5 separate regions of the Homo sapiens genome follow, and all the other regions are linked to region 3. The links are contacts of gene promoters, found by promoter capture Hi-C in blood cells and fetal thymus (Javierre and others, 2016). All regions are on one chromosome and are shown on one strand. Each heading gives the region's core, a stretch centred on a gene start or on the middle of the fragment in contact. The rest is flanking DNA. Distances are from core to core; before and after follow the strand shown. Region 1 overlaps LRRC7 (leucine rich repeat containing 7). Region 2 overlaps LRRC7 (leucine rich repeat containing 7). Region 3 holds the start of DEPDC1-AS2 (DEPDC1 antisense RNA 2). Region 4 overlaps LRRC7 (leucine rich repeat containing 7). Region 5 overlaps LRRC7 (leucine rich repeat containing 7).

Region 1 (3,217 bases), core at 401-2,900, 1.7 Mb after region 3:
TTTCAGGAAAGCTTCGGAGACACGGCAGGTACAGTCTCCTTAGAGCCTTTGAAAATACAACATGTAGGTCCTTCTCAGATTATGCTGAAACTCCAAATCCTTGTTAAAGGTTTTCCTGGACTCCTACAGTCTGGTTTGATCAGTTTATTATTAAGTACTGAATGACAGAGAAGGGTACACAGGGAGGACTTGTATCACATGAAGTAAAATAATTATTTCCTTAATGAGAAACTTAATTCTAGGGTACTTACAATAGCTGCCTTATTGGGGGAAGGGAGGCATAGATTTGCAAATGGTGGGTTTTTTCGTTTTTTTGTGTGTTGGAGTAATTGAAAAGATACATCAAGCAATAATAAACTAGATGTGCAATAATCTTGTCGAGTAGTATGTGCTGGTTTTGGAAAGGTGAAAAGAAAATTGTTACATCAGGCTGCTTTTATCAAGCTAAGCATGGGCATGCCTTTCCAAAGGGTATATTTGATCCTACAGTTAATTTTAACATTGGGCTGCAAGCTTAACCTCATCAGGAGTGGAATTAGATTTTACAAAGTTCCCCTTATCCAAACTACAGCACGCTTACTACTTTCTCCTTCCATTTTCCACACCTCAGCCCCCTAGGACCAGCTACTGGTAAGTCATTTTGTCCATTTTCATTGATCTGGCCACATAAGGAACATCCTGTTTCTTTAAATCCTCAATGCTTAAATTGCCATGTAGAAATCAACTCCCTATCAATTTTCTACATTTAATCCTTGGCTTCTTGTCATATTTTCATTTTTCTGCACTGGTTCCCATGGCAACAAGTCTGTTGGCAGAGAAAGTATGACTCTGCTTTTAGCCTTCTGCACAAGACAAAATCCTTCTGGTGATCCTCAGGCAAGTATAATATAAAAAGTCAGGAATTGACTACAGTTCCCTTGGCTAATGCCTCTAATCCTTTACTCTCTTGCATGCATTTTCCACCTTATTCCCAAACCAGGCTTGAGAAAAAAAGCATTCAAGGGCCCTGCCCAGTATCTCTTTACTGATACAAGTATTCAAAGGCCCTCCTATCCAATCACAGCCACAAAGACTGAATATTTTGGTTCAGATGGCTTTCCCTTCTCCCTAAGTGTCAGTGACTTAACTGACATAAATGCATAATTAATGACAAGGACCACTGGGAGCAGCATCGAGAAGCAACTTTCAGTCATTTTTCTATAAACAACTTTCCTCAGTTCGCAACTGAGGTGTAGCCCAGGGAATAAGTATGTCCTGAATTGAGCCTTAAATCAGTGACTAATAAGGCAATGGAACACTCAAGCAGATTTTCCTCTAATGAGTAGTTAAGTGGCACAGGAGGAGAGGCCAAGGAGTCATCCCAGAGTTCTAAGCTCATAAAGAGGAAGAGATAACAAAAGATGTAGATAAGAGGACATTGTTAACTGGTGGCTGCAAATGAGCAAGGGAGCTTCATTCAGTTGGGACAATTCAGGGTTCAGGTACGAAAAGGGTATGAAGCCTACTGAAAAATAAGGAAATGGAGCATGGAGAAAGAAAGGGTTTTTAAGAGTTAAGTCAGTAGAAAGGGAGCCTGCAAATGAGACAATAGCTTCATGCAGACTTTGGCCCAACTCTGTCTACAAATACTTTTGCAAATAATGTTTCTCTTAATAAAATGATATATTTTGTTTTGAACTTTGGAATTCCATTGTGGCTTGGCACTAAATTATAGGCCTAGCAATCCTAAATCTCCTATGTCCTCAATATCTAGAAACAAGCAGGAACTGTTTGTCAGAAATTAAACAGGACTTATTTGAATGTGCTTTAAAAAAAAAATCAATGAATTCAGGGGAATGAAAATACATGTTAGAAATTAAAATGTGGTTATCTCAGCTATAGTTAAGAAAATTATCAAATGTAAATGATCCCTTTTTTGCTGGATCTTATAAAATATGTGATACTTAAGTACACTGAAGTTTTAAAGTTAGCTGCTTATATTGTACAAAGATATTTTTGGCTCTTTAAAGGTTATTTTCCTATATTAAGAAAAGGTTTCTTATATTGAAAACTTTTATGGTGACTCAGGTTTTGTGTCTATGTATAGGCACACATAAATAGGAGGTGTTTTTCTTTGCACATTTGTTTTGCACAGCTAAAATAATGAGGTTAAATAATGCCCAGGTATGCAGGTCAATTGACCTTTTTAATAGCTTAACGAAAGCATTTGACAAATGGACAAAAGAAATCACATTGTATTTCTTTGTATCTCTCCATTCCTCTTACCCTTCCCCAACCCTCTACTAAAGAATATTTCTTATTTAGTCAGGAAATCTTATGTAATATTTTTGGACGGTCCATAGGAAAAGCAAGATGAAACTCTCAGGCAGACAACATAAAGCAGCTCCCATATCTGCTAGAAAGGTCATTAATTTTCAGAATATATTGTTGAAATAATTTTTATTTTCAATACTTGTAGTCTTTCCACTCAGAGGACTCTTATTTGGCTTGAATGTGGAAAAGGCATCTGGTTCAGGTCAGTAAGGACTGTTGTATGTAAGTTTTACTCTAGAAAATTTGGTTTTAGCTTTGATGACACCTAGCGTCAGTGGAATGCAATGAATGCTTAATACTTCGGCTTTATAATGTTTGGGCATTTCTCTTTAACATCCTCAAATACACTTTCATCCTTGAAAACACAAGCCTATTTTCTGTTTGAAATGAAGAGAAAGGTAATTGACAGATAAACAGATAGTTTTTGTTTGAAGAGCCAATCAAGTTTCTCTTTGTACTCAGTAGGGACTAAAGGAAGCTTAAGGATAATGACATTGTCTTCATATGAAGAAGAAATTTTTTACTAGTGGAAAATTAGAAGTAAATCTACCAAATTCTGTTTGTAAATTTTAAAGACCACCACAAAAGACCTTGAAAAAAGTGAAACTACTGCAAGATTACTGTTGCTTATTGAAAGTAATAATACAGTTTTATTTTTTCCACTTTATAACTGCCCAAGGGCTCCCCCAACCAGCTATATATAAGAAAACCATAACATGAACTAGGGTCTTTCTATTCAAAAAAGAAATATTAAACTAACATAAGCAATTCTGAAGGAAGACAGTGGTAGGTTTTCAGATGGTTTGTTAAGAATTATATGTAAAAGGATACTAGATATTATGTTTTGGATGTTTTCTAAGTATCTATGAAAATTATTTTTTCCTAAACGATTTCATAATTGATT
Region 2 (3,354 bases), core at 712-3,211, 1.3 Mb after region 3:
TGCTTTCTCTACATTGTTTACATCAGACAGAAAAGATGGGTCTCTTATCATGTGTTGTGAAGGGCACCAAATTAACATTGCGTCTCATCACAAAAGGCAAGGAATCTCTGAGATGAGACAACTACATAGAAAATGATTTCCTACTAGTCCTTACTAAAGCTCCTACTCAAATCTCTGGAAGAAGCTGTGGAGTAAAATGCTTCACATAAAGTGGAAATTTTAACAAAATAAATTTTGACCATCAGTATACTCAAAGTTTTATTAAATAAAGTATTTGATTAAAACACATTTAAAAGTACTAAACACACCTCTGGCTTCTCAATAGACCATGCCAAATCATTGATCTTTGTCTTGATAACTGACTCATCATTAAGAACATAAATCTTGTACTACAGTATGAAAATTTCTCAGGAGATCTTAAGGTGTAAGAACATCATCTGAGTAATATATTCAAGGATCAGGTAAGTGATTAGACTGAGGGTCCTTCCAAACTTGAGAGTCTGTCAATAAAATAGCCTCTATCTGACTACTTCTGCTCTGCTCTTTTATTCTGTGTCTTTTTATTCTTTTATTCTGGGTCAAGCCTTCAGATATTATTCCAGAAACTAATTATTTTAGGTTATTACCTTATGAAAGTTAGATCTTTGAGAGTATCCTAATGCTTAGAAATGTGTTTCTTCATGCTGCTCTTGGGTCAGTTTCACAACTTGCCTGGAAGCCAAACTCTTCAAGAAACATAGGTGGAATAGTTTATTACTGAATTAGAACTTGTCTCTGAACTTTGGCTAATTTTAACCTGATGTTGTAATTTTCTTTCTACTGTCCTTACATGTATATTTGCATATTTAAATAAGTTAGCAGACAAAAATGTCAAGACAGAATGTGTGGAAAGAGAAAAACAAAAGTACTATAGTATAGTTTTTCACCCAGGTGATATGATGAGGACAGATTTTGAGTGAGTTTGTATATGCCACTACTTAGTACAAACCTTCTCTCAAGGAATTGCTTCTAGCTTGATCCTATAATCCATAAGTTGATGTTCTTTAGTGTTACAATGACTGTAATAATGGTGAAGAGTAGAAGACAGACCAGGAAAGCAGCATTATTTATAAATATGGAACAGAAGATTTTTAAAAAGAAGACAAATTTAAGCTTCAATAAGTGCTCCAAACTCAAATTCTGTGGATTTTGTTTAACAATGCACACTATGACTAGAAAACAATGACCTAAATAAATTAAAGAGTGAGACGGAATATTCTATCAACCAAAAAGTTCCAATTCTCAGGTTTCTGTAACATCAGCTACTGTGATGTTTTAAGATTTACAAATTATAATTACAAACAAAAATCATTCAACATTATTTTTTAAAAATATAAGTTTTACCATAGATTGGTAGGGTTGACATAGATGAAGAAAATAGATGAAAGATATTCAGTTTTGGGAGTAGTGTAAGCTAGAGCATAGAATAGGGAAAGTGTCTTCAGGGAAGTAGAAGGTAGAAAACTGAAAAGTTCACGCCTGTAATCCCAGCACTTTGGGAGGCTGAGGTGGGCGGATCACGAGGTCAGGAGATCGAGACCATCTTGGCCAACATGGTGAAACCCCTTCTCTACTAAAATATAAAAATTAGCCAGGCATGGTGGCATGTGCCTGTAGTCCCAGCTATTCGGGAGGCTGAGGCAGGGGAATCGCTTGAACCCGGGAGGTGGAGGTTGCAGTGAGCTGAGATCACGCCACTGCACTCCAGCCTGGCGACAGAGCAAGACTATGTCTCAAAAATAAATAAATAAATAAATAAATAAATAAATAATAATAACTGAAAAGTGAGGTTAAAGAGAACTTGAATGTCAAGCTAAAGAATCTTGTAGAGCACCCTTTCATAAAGTGGGTAATTCAGAATACTAATGAGGAAAGGTTGGTTAATGGGTAAAAAAATACAGTTAAGAGCAAAGGAGCAAGTTCTAGTGTTCAGTAGCACAGCAAGGAAACTCTTATTTAGCAATAATGTATATTTTGAAATATTTAAAAGATTTAGAATGTTACTAACACAAAGAAATGATAAATGTTTGAGGTTATACATATCCCAATTACTCTGATTTGATTGTCACACATTGTACACTTGTATTAGAATATTGCCTGTACCCCATAAATATGTACAACCATATGTATAATTAAATTTTTAATTAAAAAGGTATCTAGAAAACATTGGTTTGAACAAAGATAAATGTAGTTTTTTAATTTATCACAAGACCTCTGCCTTAGTTCATTTGTGCTGCTATAATGAAATACTGAGTAATTTATAAGCTGTGGAAATTTATTTCTCACAATTCTGGAGGCTAGGAGTCCAAGATCAAGGTGCCAGCAAGTTCAGAGTCTGTTGAGGGCCCAGTCTCCCCTTCCAAGATGATGTCTTATTGCTGCATCCACTGAATGGAATTGTTGCTGTGTCTTCACATGGCAAAGGAACAGAAGAACAGAGCCTAAACTGGTTTCCTTTAGCCCTTTTGTAAGGCATTAATCCATTCATGAGGGCGGGGTCTTCATGACTTAGTCACTTCTCAGAAGGCCCCACCTCTTGATATCACCACATGGGGATTAAGTTTTAACATGAATTTTGAAGGGGACATAAGTCAAACCATAGCAATTTCCATGAGTTCTTAATATGCTAATGCATATGGGATTATGATCTCCTCTCAGCTTATGTCTAAGAGGAAGATGTAACCCAGGAGCATGGTCTGGGAAATACTGTTGTTGAAAATGTAGACTCAGTGAAGCTTTTAAACTGGGGAATGGATGTGCATTTTAAGAGATTAATTAATGTCTTAAATGTATGTGTCAATATGTAAAAAGGATAAAACTCTAATATTTGCTTTTATAGCAATTATAATATGCAATTATGGATTTATTTAAATAACTTTTTATTTGATGCTCATCTCTCTTACTATCCAATAAATTCAGTAGAGCAGGCACCATAGCTTTTTAACTCATTTGTATTATTCAACATATAAACCAGTACCTAACATATAGTAGACAATTAATAAGTATTTATTACATGTCTAGAAATAGTGTACTTTTGTGCAGTATTTTCATTGGCATTACTACTAGAAGATGGCAAGGGTCTGAATTAGATTGACTGAATGGTAAAGAAAGGAAAAGAAAGACATAAAATATTTAATATAGAAGGAAAAAAGGAAAGAAGGAAAAGCAAAAGAGGACTGCAAGTACAGAATTAAGAGAATTAAAGTATAATCAAAACAACAAATTATGAAGGAAAGCACAATGTCTAGTACGGAGGAGTAGGAGCTTAGTAAATATGTCCAAGTTCTGCTTTTGACAAGTGGAGTTTTATTTAAA
Region 3 (3,118 bases), core at 89-2,588:
TTTAGTTTTTTTCTTTTCTCCTTTAGAGGTAAACTCCTGTTTTTAATAATATTTTCTAAAAGTTCTGCAATTGCAGCTTGAGAGGTAGAAACTTTTTGCTCATCAAACTCCTGAGCACTAATCTGCTTACAGTATGAGTAAGTTGGCAAAGGAGCAAATAGTCCATCTCCAGGATTTTCAATCTGTAGTGATCAAAATGATATAACTCTGTTAATTCTGGTCATGTTCTTATATGATAAAGTATTCTTTTGATGGGATCTAGCACCTATTAATTTACCACCAATCAAACATTCAGCCATTAAAAAAACTATGTATTATGCAGTAGAGGTATGTAAGTCAGTAGGTTCTAAACCCCAGCTCCATAATCTACTTGGTTTGTAGCATTCAACAATGTATTTAACTTTTCTTGGTCTGTTTCTTCATCATTAAAATGGAAATTACATAAGAAAATGTATAGAAAGGGCTCAGCCCACAATAAGCATTAAATAAAGACAGGTATTATAATTATTACCATTAACTATGGATTTTATTCTTTTAACTATAAAATAACAATCTAAGTGTTATTCTAATTCATCTTAAGACTTTAATGTTCTGACAGTGCAGGTAGTAGATGATCAGCATATTTACTGAAATGAAATATTTTTAGTTTTCATGTATTTTTTTTTTTTTTGAGGCCTAGGGACATAGGCAGAGCTTCTAACATCTTCTGATAAGAGAAAGAAATTCTAGGAGATAGTTATAATTATAAGCCAGGGCAATATTAGAATGGTATGTATGGGAAAAACATAAACATGTGTTGGGCAGCCAAAGACAGAATACAGTAGATGTCTGTTATTTTGGCTGCTCAGTATTCCTTCTCTCCTTCTTTTAATAGTTCCTTCCCATTTTACCCCTCTACCTTCACCTTTTGTGAAGAATAAATTCTCCTTTGTGTAGAACCAATCAGAGTAAGGCCCTATCTCCATCCTACTCACTCTTAACAACCTAAACGATGCATATTTAACCTCAACTATGCTAAGAGTCTACATCCAGAGCTTTTAAATTGGAGACGGAGGAATGGCTCTTTTTCCTTTGAATTGCAAATGTAAGGCTCTAACTCATGAACTTCAACTAGCCACATTCCTCATCATGTGAAGGAGCCATTGTCAAACACAGGATCAACACAGAAATAAGAGATGGAGGGATGGAAAGAGTCATATAGCTATTTGAGTCCCAGATTCTGTCTACATTCCTGACTTTTAGAGGTTGTTTATGGGAGCTGATAAAGTCTCCCTTTTTGATTAAGCTATTTTGAGATGAGTTTGCCACTTGCAACTGACTATTGCAGAGAATTTTAAGACTCACAATACTTACATGTCCCTTTTTTAAGTAGTCAAGATGTTTTTCCACTGCAGTCTGTAAGTAAGAGGGTACTTGAAGAATTTCCTGATGATGATCCATTAAGAAAGAAACTAATCTTCCAGCAAGAAGCTCATCAAGATCCACTTCTTCAGCACAGCATAACACACATCGAGAAAAGGTATGTATCATCTAGAAAAATATTAAAAGATGTGAATTTAAAAAGCTAAGGTTGCATACAAACTAGAATATCGGTAATTTCCAGGTAGCATTATGTGAAGTATTGGGAAAAAGTGGTAAGCAGCCCTCAGTTTAAAAATGAGGACAACGATTTATACAGTTAGAAATGTAAGAATTTGATTATACATAAATCCTTTTTAAAGTTTTTCCATGGCTGAGCATGGTGGTTCATGCCTGTAATCTAAGCACTTTGGGAGGCTGAGGTGAGAGGCTCACTTGAGGCAAGGAGTTCGAAGCCAGCCTAGGCAACATAGTGAAACCCTATACCTATGAAGAAATAAAAAACTAGCCAGGCATGATGGTGCATGACTGTGGTTCCAGCTACTTGGGAGAGTGAGGCAGAAGGATTTTTTGAGCCCAGGAATTCCAGGGTGCAGTGAGCTATGATCACACCACTGTACTCTAGCCTGGGAAACAGAGCGTGATCCTGTGTAACCAGAAAAAAAAAAAAAAAGTATATCCTTAATGTAATTCCCAAGAATTATAAAAGGCTTTGGTTTTTCTACAATTTTGTCACAATTTTATCAGTAAACACCATAGGTTCTATTAATACCACATATATATGTTGCTTAAGCTTAAAGATTGTCAGAGAACAATAACTAATTACATTAAATGAATCCCACAGAAAAACACAAACCAGGAGAATGTGTAACATATAGAACACTTCTATTCATAAGTGGTTGCAAAGCTGATGCCATTTAGCTTTTGAAATGCTGGAAAATAGTTTTTAAAAATGTTTATTCTGTCAGTCTTTAGACAGCAATTTAAAACACACATTTTTCAATTCCATCTTATGGGATCTTCAAATCCTGGGATAAAATTGATTACTCTCACTTATTACTCTCGTTACTTTCACTTATATCTATGCAACCCTCTAACTGTACCACACACACACACACACACACACACACACACCCCTCATTCTAAAATACTTAGAAATCAGAATTGTTTTAAATATTTCACACATAGTAGATGATCAGAATATTTATAGAATTGATACATTTTTAGTTTTATTCCTACACATCACTCGGGGTTTCCTGTCTCCTTCCATGGCTCAGACCTCAGCCTTTTGCTCTTTCTTCACACTCTTAGCCTTGTAGAGCTCATCTACTCTCATAGCTTCAAGTACTATCCCTATGTAAATGACCAAATCAATTTGCATTCTCCCCTGATCTTTCTTCACCTGGCTCATATTTCCAACATTCTGTTGGACAAATTTCAATTTCTCTTGGAGGTCCTATGACTTCAAATCTTAAAAGTGCAAAACCAAAATTATCACCTTCCCAGTCATGTCTCTGAAAACATCTTCCTCTATAAACTTCCTAGCTTTTTAATAGTGCTATAATTACTCAAGAATAATTCTTCTTCTTTATATTAGGTCTGTCATTGTTAAAGAACTATCTTTAATAACGCGTGGAAGAAAGCATAACTCCGGATTCCTTGCTATAAGAACCTCTTGTAAATTGAAGTTGCATTTTGAGGAAGTGGTGACTTAAAAAAAAAGAAAGAGATTAAAGATACTATTTCAAGAGTTCATTTC
Region 4 (3,234 bases), core at 321-2,820, 1.2 Mb after region 3:
CAAACTTCAGGCAAATAACTTACCAAAATTACATCGTAAGCTCTTCTATGGAAGGTCCATAGCTTTGCTCCAGCCTCCATAGTTATTTTTGCAGCCAAACCCTTCCTGAGATGCTACATAGGATATAATTTTTTTAAAGATCCATTGCCACTTATTTTCCTAGCACCTCTGGCTTAGCAAATCAGTCGTTTGTGTAGGACTTGAGCTCCCACTGGGCTTTTTAAAAAATGCAAATGTCTCTGAGGAGTAACTGTAGTCAAGTCATAAAACTTCATTCAACATGAAAGTGTTTTCAGATCAATGGCCTCAATAACTAGAAGGAATCAGGTAGCAAGAGATCTTTGGATGTCCGGGAAGAAGTAGGAAAAAGTCAGAAAAATATTTAAGTGAGGGATTTGAAAAGCAAATTTCAACTACTACATATTTTTGACAAAGGTTAGTTTTGTTATTTGATGAAGGATTTTTTTGAATAAAATTTCAGCCCTTTTTACACCCTTCCTTTCGTATTAGCAGTAACTATTTTGTTATTCATTCCTTCCTTATGAAAGCTTCCCTGATGCCTCTCCTCCTCTTCTTGGCAGACATCAGGACTGTTAAAGGACCAACAGGTTCATATGCCCACTATACAATAACACACCAGATACACTGAGACAGCTGGATTTGCCCCAGAGAAAAAGCTAAATGACCACAGAGCAGAGCACCAAGTGCGGAGATGAAGGAGACCCTCAAATCCATTTCCCCATCCTGAAGTTCTGGGCTGGGCTTTTTAAGGGAATCATAGAGGGTAAGGGCCTGGAAAATTGGAGTTGTTGGTTGAGGTAAGGAGAATGAAATCATCATTACATTGAAACCCATTCTTTGGTGACTCAGCTTCTTGTGGGGTCTTTCAGACCAGCTTGTGTCAATAGGGTCCTACAGAGCAGCTGATATCAGCAGTTTTACTAGTATGCAGGACCTGAAAGAATATCTCAAAGGGAAAACAATGTTTCATAATGTTCAGGAAGTTATCTATAGAGCAGCTAAGGGGAAATAATCTTGTAACAGGGTCTGGGTGATTCTGAGGTAATAGGCCCCAAACAACCATGGGGAAGCAGGTCAGAGGGCAAGCTGGCCTAGTGTTTAACATTGAATGGGCTGAAAGTTTGGTTTATTTTTGTTTCTTGTTTCTCCCCCTCCCTTCTTACCTGAATAATTTTATGAAGTTTATAGGGATGGTTTCAGGACCTCCATTCTATCTGTTCCTGAAATATTACAAAAAGATTATTATTGTAGCACTCATCTAATTGTGTTTTATCTCGTTGTTTGCATGTCTGTTTCTTCCCCAGTGAGTTGTAAATTGCTTAAGGGCAAACAGACGCATCCTATTTATCTGTCTGTCACTAACATTAAGCACAGCATTTGGTATACAGTCATCACTCTAATAAAGTTTGAAAAAAATAAAAAGGAATGAATTATAAAGGATACAACTTGGCCAGGTACAGTGGCTGACCCCTGTAATCCCAATGCTTTGGGAGGCTAAGCCAGGTGGATCGCTTAAGCTCAGGAGCTTGAGATGGGCCTGAGCAACATGGCGAAACTCTGTCTCTACAAAAAGAACAAAAATTAGCCAGGAGTAGTGGCACATGCCTGTAGTCCCAGATACTCAGGAGGCTGAGGTGGGAGGATTGCTTGAGCCTGGGAGGTCGAGGCTGCAGTGAGTTGTGATTACACTGCTGCACTCCAGCCTGGGCAAAAGAGGGAGACCCTGTCTCAAAAAAAAAAAAAAAAAAAAAAAAGAAAAGAAAAGAAGCAACTTGATTTAAGCCACAGTAGTTGTAGTTGACAGTACAGTTGGAGTTTAAAGGCATCCAATAGATAACTTTCATATTGCAAAACAATTTTGAAACCAATTAAAATATTGACAAGATATCAGACATTATTTTTAAGTAATAAAGATTTTTATGATGCTTGATCTTTATTACTTATAAAGGCTAGATTGGAGAACACAGTTGGGATTTTTGGCAACTATGGGGTTTTTCATAATATACTCTAGAAATGGGCATACCTATCCACCTAAACACAGCAGTACAAGAAACCACAGGGCTTCTTTTTTGGGGAACTCCTGCTACAAAACTTACAGCAGTGAGGAGCAGATTAATGTAGTGTATCTTAGCTGAAGCAGTTCCATCTCAAAGAAAGATGGAGGAAGGTACTGGGCTACTTATGCCCAGTTCTCCTCCAGTATTTATTAACTGGGTAAATCACCTCACTTCCTAACGGAGTTAGAAATGATATAAGAAGTCAAGAGTATTGGGGAAATCCCTCTACACAGAAAATAGATGAGTGCATGATAAGCACCTCACTTCTAATGTTCCCTAAAGTCTTTATCTCTTAAGGCATTAGGCTTAAATATTAAGCCTTTAGACAGCTAGAAGGGCATTTATTAGGGCAGCCTTTACCCAGATATCAATCCCTACTTTTTCGTGGGTCCTTCTGAGATTACTGGGAGCAGAGAGGAGGAGCAATGTGGATTTAACTGCAAGACCATTCTAAACCAAGGCCTTGACCCTTCATATTCTACTGTCATCTCAAATTGTGTCTTACATTATTCTTGAAGCTTCCAAAATATGATGATCAAATTACACTCATTTATTCAACAAATATTGACTTAATGTCAGCTGTATGGCTCTCCCTCTTGTGTGCTTGTAATACACAGCATGTTGGATAATTTTGTATGTAAACTTGACTGGGCCACAGTATGCACAGATCTGGCTAAACATTATTTCCAGGTGTGTCTATGCGAATGTTTTCAGAAAAAAAAATAGTATTTAAGTTGGTAGCCCTCCCTAATATGGGCCTTCCCTAAAGCAGGCAGCCCTCCCTAATGTGGGTGGGGACCATCCAATCCATGAGGACGTGAATAGAACAAAAGTGTGGCTCTGCTCACTGCTGGAGCTGGGACATCCATCTTCTCCTGCCTTTGGTGCTCCTGGTTTTCAGGCTCGCAGACACGGACAGGAGTCTACACTGTTGGTTCCGTGTCTCGCATGCCTTCAAACTACATCACTGGCTTTCCTGGGTCTCCAGCTTATGAACAGCAGATTATGGAACTACTCAACCTCTATAATTGGTTGAACCAATTCCTTGCAATAAATCTCATTGACCCCTTTCTATATAAATTGATAGATTAGATATAGATATAGATGATATAGACATCTATATATCCCATATAATATTTAGGCTCATTTCTACTAA
Region 5 (3,057 bases), core at 484-2,983, 1.2 Mb after region 3:
GCTTACTGCAAAAACGTTCTTTGCTCCACCCAGATCTCACAAGTCCAGTGTTGAGTGTATGGCCTCATGCTTTCTGGAAAGCCCTCCAACTCTGATTCTTACAGGCTGAGCAGCTGTAAGATGTAACAACAAATCCTAATGAATCTCTGAAGATATTGGTGACCTTCAAAATATAGTAAATTCTCCCTTGCTGAGGATGGCTGTGGTGTAATTTTTCCTAAAATGATAAACTGAGTGTGGCTGTTTAAAATTTCTGTCAAACCTGTAATTCAATCTAAATATGCTCTCTATCACAATTCTTGCTTGGAGTAATGCTTATCACATTTCTTTGATATGCAGTGCCTGTACTTCAACAGCTCCTAGCACATTGTTGGCACTAAATAATCAATGACTGTTAGTGATCATGTCACAAAACACTAGAGAACATTGACCATGAGACTGAGTTAAAGTTCTTAGCCAATTCAATATCTGTTTCAAAGCATCCTTGACATTTCAAATCCCCTGAATTTTTCATTTACTCAGTAATTGAAAACCTAAATCTAGAACTGTGGTATTATCACAAGTGCCCACTGCACCCTCTGGATTCAAAAGGTTAATTTTAATGAACTTTTAAACACTTGCATTAGGCAATTTCATTTAAATATAATTGAAATGTGAAGCTGGGTAGTTGTAGTGCTTGGCATTCAAATCTGGCCTATTTACCGTGTCGTCATGGCTCAAGTGCTGTAGCAACACTTGATAAATATTACAGTGTCTAGAGTCATAAACACTGATTATAAGCATAACTGAACAAGGTCTTTGCCCCTGGGAAACCATGTTTTAAGTAGGAGCTTATACCCTAAGGACTTTTAACCGTACTTTCCACTTTTGAGTAGCATGTCGGAGGCAGGTCAAACTGGAGTCAAATGCAGCTTGGGCCACAGAAAGATGTAGAAAGTTCAGGAAGTATATGCTGGTGAGAATTAGCATGTACCTAATATGCACAATGAGTGGGGATCTTGTGTCATCATTTACATATAATCAAAGCACTGCATGAGGAGATTGTATTTCAAAAATTTTGACTAAAAATCTAGAAACCAGAAATGCCACTAAAAAGAGTTATGGCCCAAAGCAAGGAGCCTTTCAAAAGGCTTTCAAACAATACTTTCATATATAAGTTATCTCATAAAGTCGTTTAAAATAGACTTTAACCTGGAGGCTCAGTCACTTAGCCAAGTGTACCCCCAACCAATGAGGACAGTGGTAGCACTGAGAAAAAGAACACACACACACACACACACACACACGTGCACACGCGCAAGTGCTTTAAAATTTAATTTTCTAAAGTATTTTATTTAGGAAAAAAAGGGCCAGGTGCAGTGGCTACGCCTGTAATCCCAGCACTCTGGGAGGCCGAGTCAGGCAGATCACCTGAGGTCAGGAGTTTGAGACCAGCCTGGCCAACATGGCGAAACCCTATCTCTACTAAAAATAGAAAAATTAGCCAGGCTTGGTGGTGGGCGCCTGTAATCCAAGCTATTCAGGAGGCAGAGGCAGGGAGAATTGCTTGAACCCAGGAGGCAGCGGTTGCAGTGAGCCAAGATTGCGCCATTGCACTCCAGCCTGGGCGACAGAGCGAGACTCCATCTCACAAAACAAACAAACCAACAACAAAAAAAGAACCATTAGGGCTAGTATTCTGGTCTCTATTATAACAAAAAGTTATTTTTATTTTTTCTTTCAGCATTAAAAATGTAGTATCACTAGTGACTAAGTGCATTTGGTCTCTTATAAAAGAATAATAAAATACTGTGTTTAAAAGTATGTGTGCTTTGCTGGCTTTATTTCTCTTGTATGAAGGAGTGGGGTGATGATGTCCATATTGCATTAGCCATGGAAAGGCCCAGTTTCAGCTATCTGCAAGGGAAAAAAGCAAGTCTATGCATACTTTAAATAATAACTGCTGCCTATGTAACACAAAGATCTGTTGTTCTAAATTTAGCCACATATTCCCTCCAGTGTATTGAATGGCGAATCTCCCTGAACGTGGAGGGGCACGTTTTGTTTTCAACAAAATGACAAGATTACAGACAACAAGAATGTAATAGTTTATTTTTAAGATATCACTTTCATGGATACTGTAATAATATATTTTAGGCATATAATTTTACCTATTGTAATAAAAAATAATAATAACAAATACCCTTCTTCTAAGGAGAGTGTTTGCTCTTAAGAAGAACTTATTTTAAGGCCAGGCACGGTGGTTCATACCTGTAATCCCAGCACTTTGGGGGGCCAAAGCAGGAGGCTCACTTGAGCCTAGGAGTTCCAGATCAGCCCAGGAAGCATAGTGAGACTTGGTCTCTCAAAAAAAAATGTATATATATATATTTAGACAGGTGTGGTGACCTTCACCTGTAACGTCATCTACTCTGGAGGCCGAGGTTGGAGGATCACTTGAGCCTGGGAGGTCAAGGCCACCAGTGAGCCGTGATTGTGCCACTGCACCCCAGCCTGGATGACAAAGCGAGACCCTGTCTCAAAAACAAACAGAAAGAGCTTATTTTACTTTTTTTTTTAACTATGAGATGTTAAGTTTGATGATTACTGCCATTTTACAGAAAAAGAAATTAAATTATCTGATTCCTGTTTTCTAAGTTGTAGGCCTATGCTACATCAAATGGTATTTAATCAGACTGTTGAATGACTGTTTCCTTAATGTCCAGCTACGTTTATGATCATTTCAGCTAAACCTTAGTTACTTGAATTACACAGAGTTGGAATCTGCATGGCATCTCGTATGAAACTGATCAAAGGGTTTGAATTCTGGGGAATAGAGATAATTGTTTAACATTAATACAGACTTTTGCCCCAAATAAGAATTTCCAGTCACAAAATGTTAATCACAATGGCTGAATGCTTGTGTATCAGACACCTAAGAGCTTTGCTTAGAAAATTTACCCAGTAATCTTGCTAATTCCTGGGACTCTCTTCTTCTCTCTCTTCTTATTCTGTCTCTTATTAATCCCAAAGCTAAACTCATCCAGCACCCTCATAACAAATATTTTGTACAATTTG

The links. Contacts are between HindIII fragments. The CHiCAGO score rates a contact against its expected background, and 5 or more counts as called.
Region 1: a contact is called between a fragment that was not itself captured here and the fragment with the promoter of DEPDC1-AS2 in region 3, in 1 of 17 cell types (megakaryocytes). The highest score is 5.9, in megakaryocytes.
Region 2: a contact is called between a fragment that was not itself captured here and the fragment with the promoter of DEPDC1-AS2 in region 3, in 7 of 17 cell types (M2 macrophages, endothelial precursors, megakaryocytes and 4 more). The highest score is 17.3, in M2 macrophages.
Region 4: a fragment that was not itself captured here is called in contact with the fragment with the promoter of DEPDC1-AS2 in region 3 in 1 of 17 cell types (endothelial precursors); the score reaches 6.7 in endothelial precursors.
Region 5: a fragment that was not itself captured here is called in contact with the fragment with the promoter of DEPDC1-AS2 in region 3 in 3 of 17 cell types (M0 macrophages, endothelial precursors and M2 macrophages); the score reaches 7.8 in M0 macrophages.

Annotation. Positions count from the first base shown.
Region 1 is chr1:70,139,739-70,142,955 of GRCh38, forward strand. LRRC7 (leucine rich repeat containing 7) reads left to right here. Exons shown (of 27, transcript NM_001370785.2): 27 at 1-3,217. Among named protein-coding and RNA genes, the nearest start is that of LRRC40, 64 kb to the right of the region's middle. RefSeq lists an enhancer at 1,026-1,527. The HindIII fragment of the contact is 2,278 bases long and covers 512-2,789 here.
Region 2 is chr1:69,748,286-69,751,639 of GRCh38, forward strand. The region is part of intron 2 of LRRC7 (leucine rich repeat containing 7); the gene reads left to right. Among named protein-coding and RNA genes, the nearest start is that of LRRC7, 180 kb to the left of the region's middle. The HindIII fragment of the contact is 1,622 bases long and covers 1,151-2,772 here.
Region 3 is chr1:68,477,791-68,480,908 of GRCh38, forward strand. It overlaps DEPDC1-AS2 (DEPDC1 antisense RNA 2), which reads left to right and starts at 1,339. Exons shown (of 2, transcript NR_198991.1): 1 at 1,339-1,519. It overlaps DEPDC1 (DEP domain containing 1), which reads right to left. Exons shown (of 12, transcript NM_001114120.3): 10 at 1,354-1,530; 11 at 1-182. The HindIII fragment of the contact is 5,599 bases long and covers 1-2,150 here.
Region 4 is chr1:69,690,047-69,693,280 of GRCh38, forward strand. All of the region lies in intron 2 of LRRC7 (leucine rich repeat containing 7), which reads left to right. Among named protein-coding and RNA genes, the nearest start is that of LRRC7, 120 kb to the left of the region's middle. The HindIII fragment of the contact is 2,048 bases long and covers 547-2,594 here.
Region 5 is chr1:69,710,976-69,714,032 of GRCh38, forward strand. The region is part of intron 2 of LRRC7 (leucine rich repeat containing 7); the gene reads left to right. Among named protein-coding and RNA genes, the nearest start is that of LRRC7, 140 kb to the left of the region's middle. The HindIII fragment of the contact is 4,412 bases long and covers 1-3,057 here.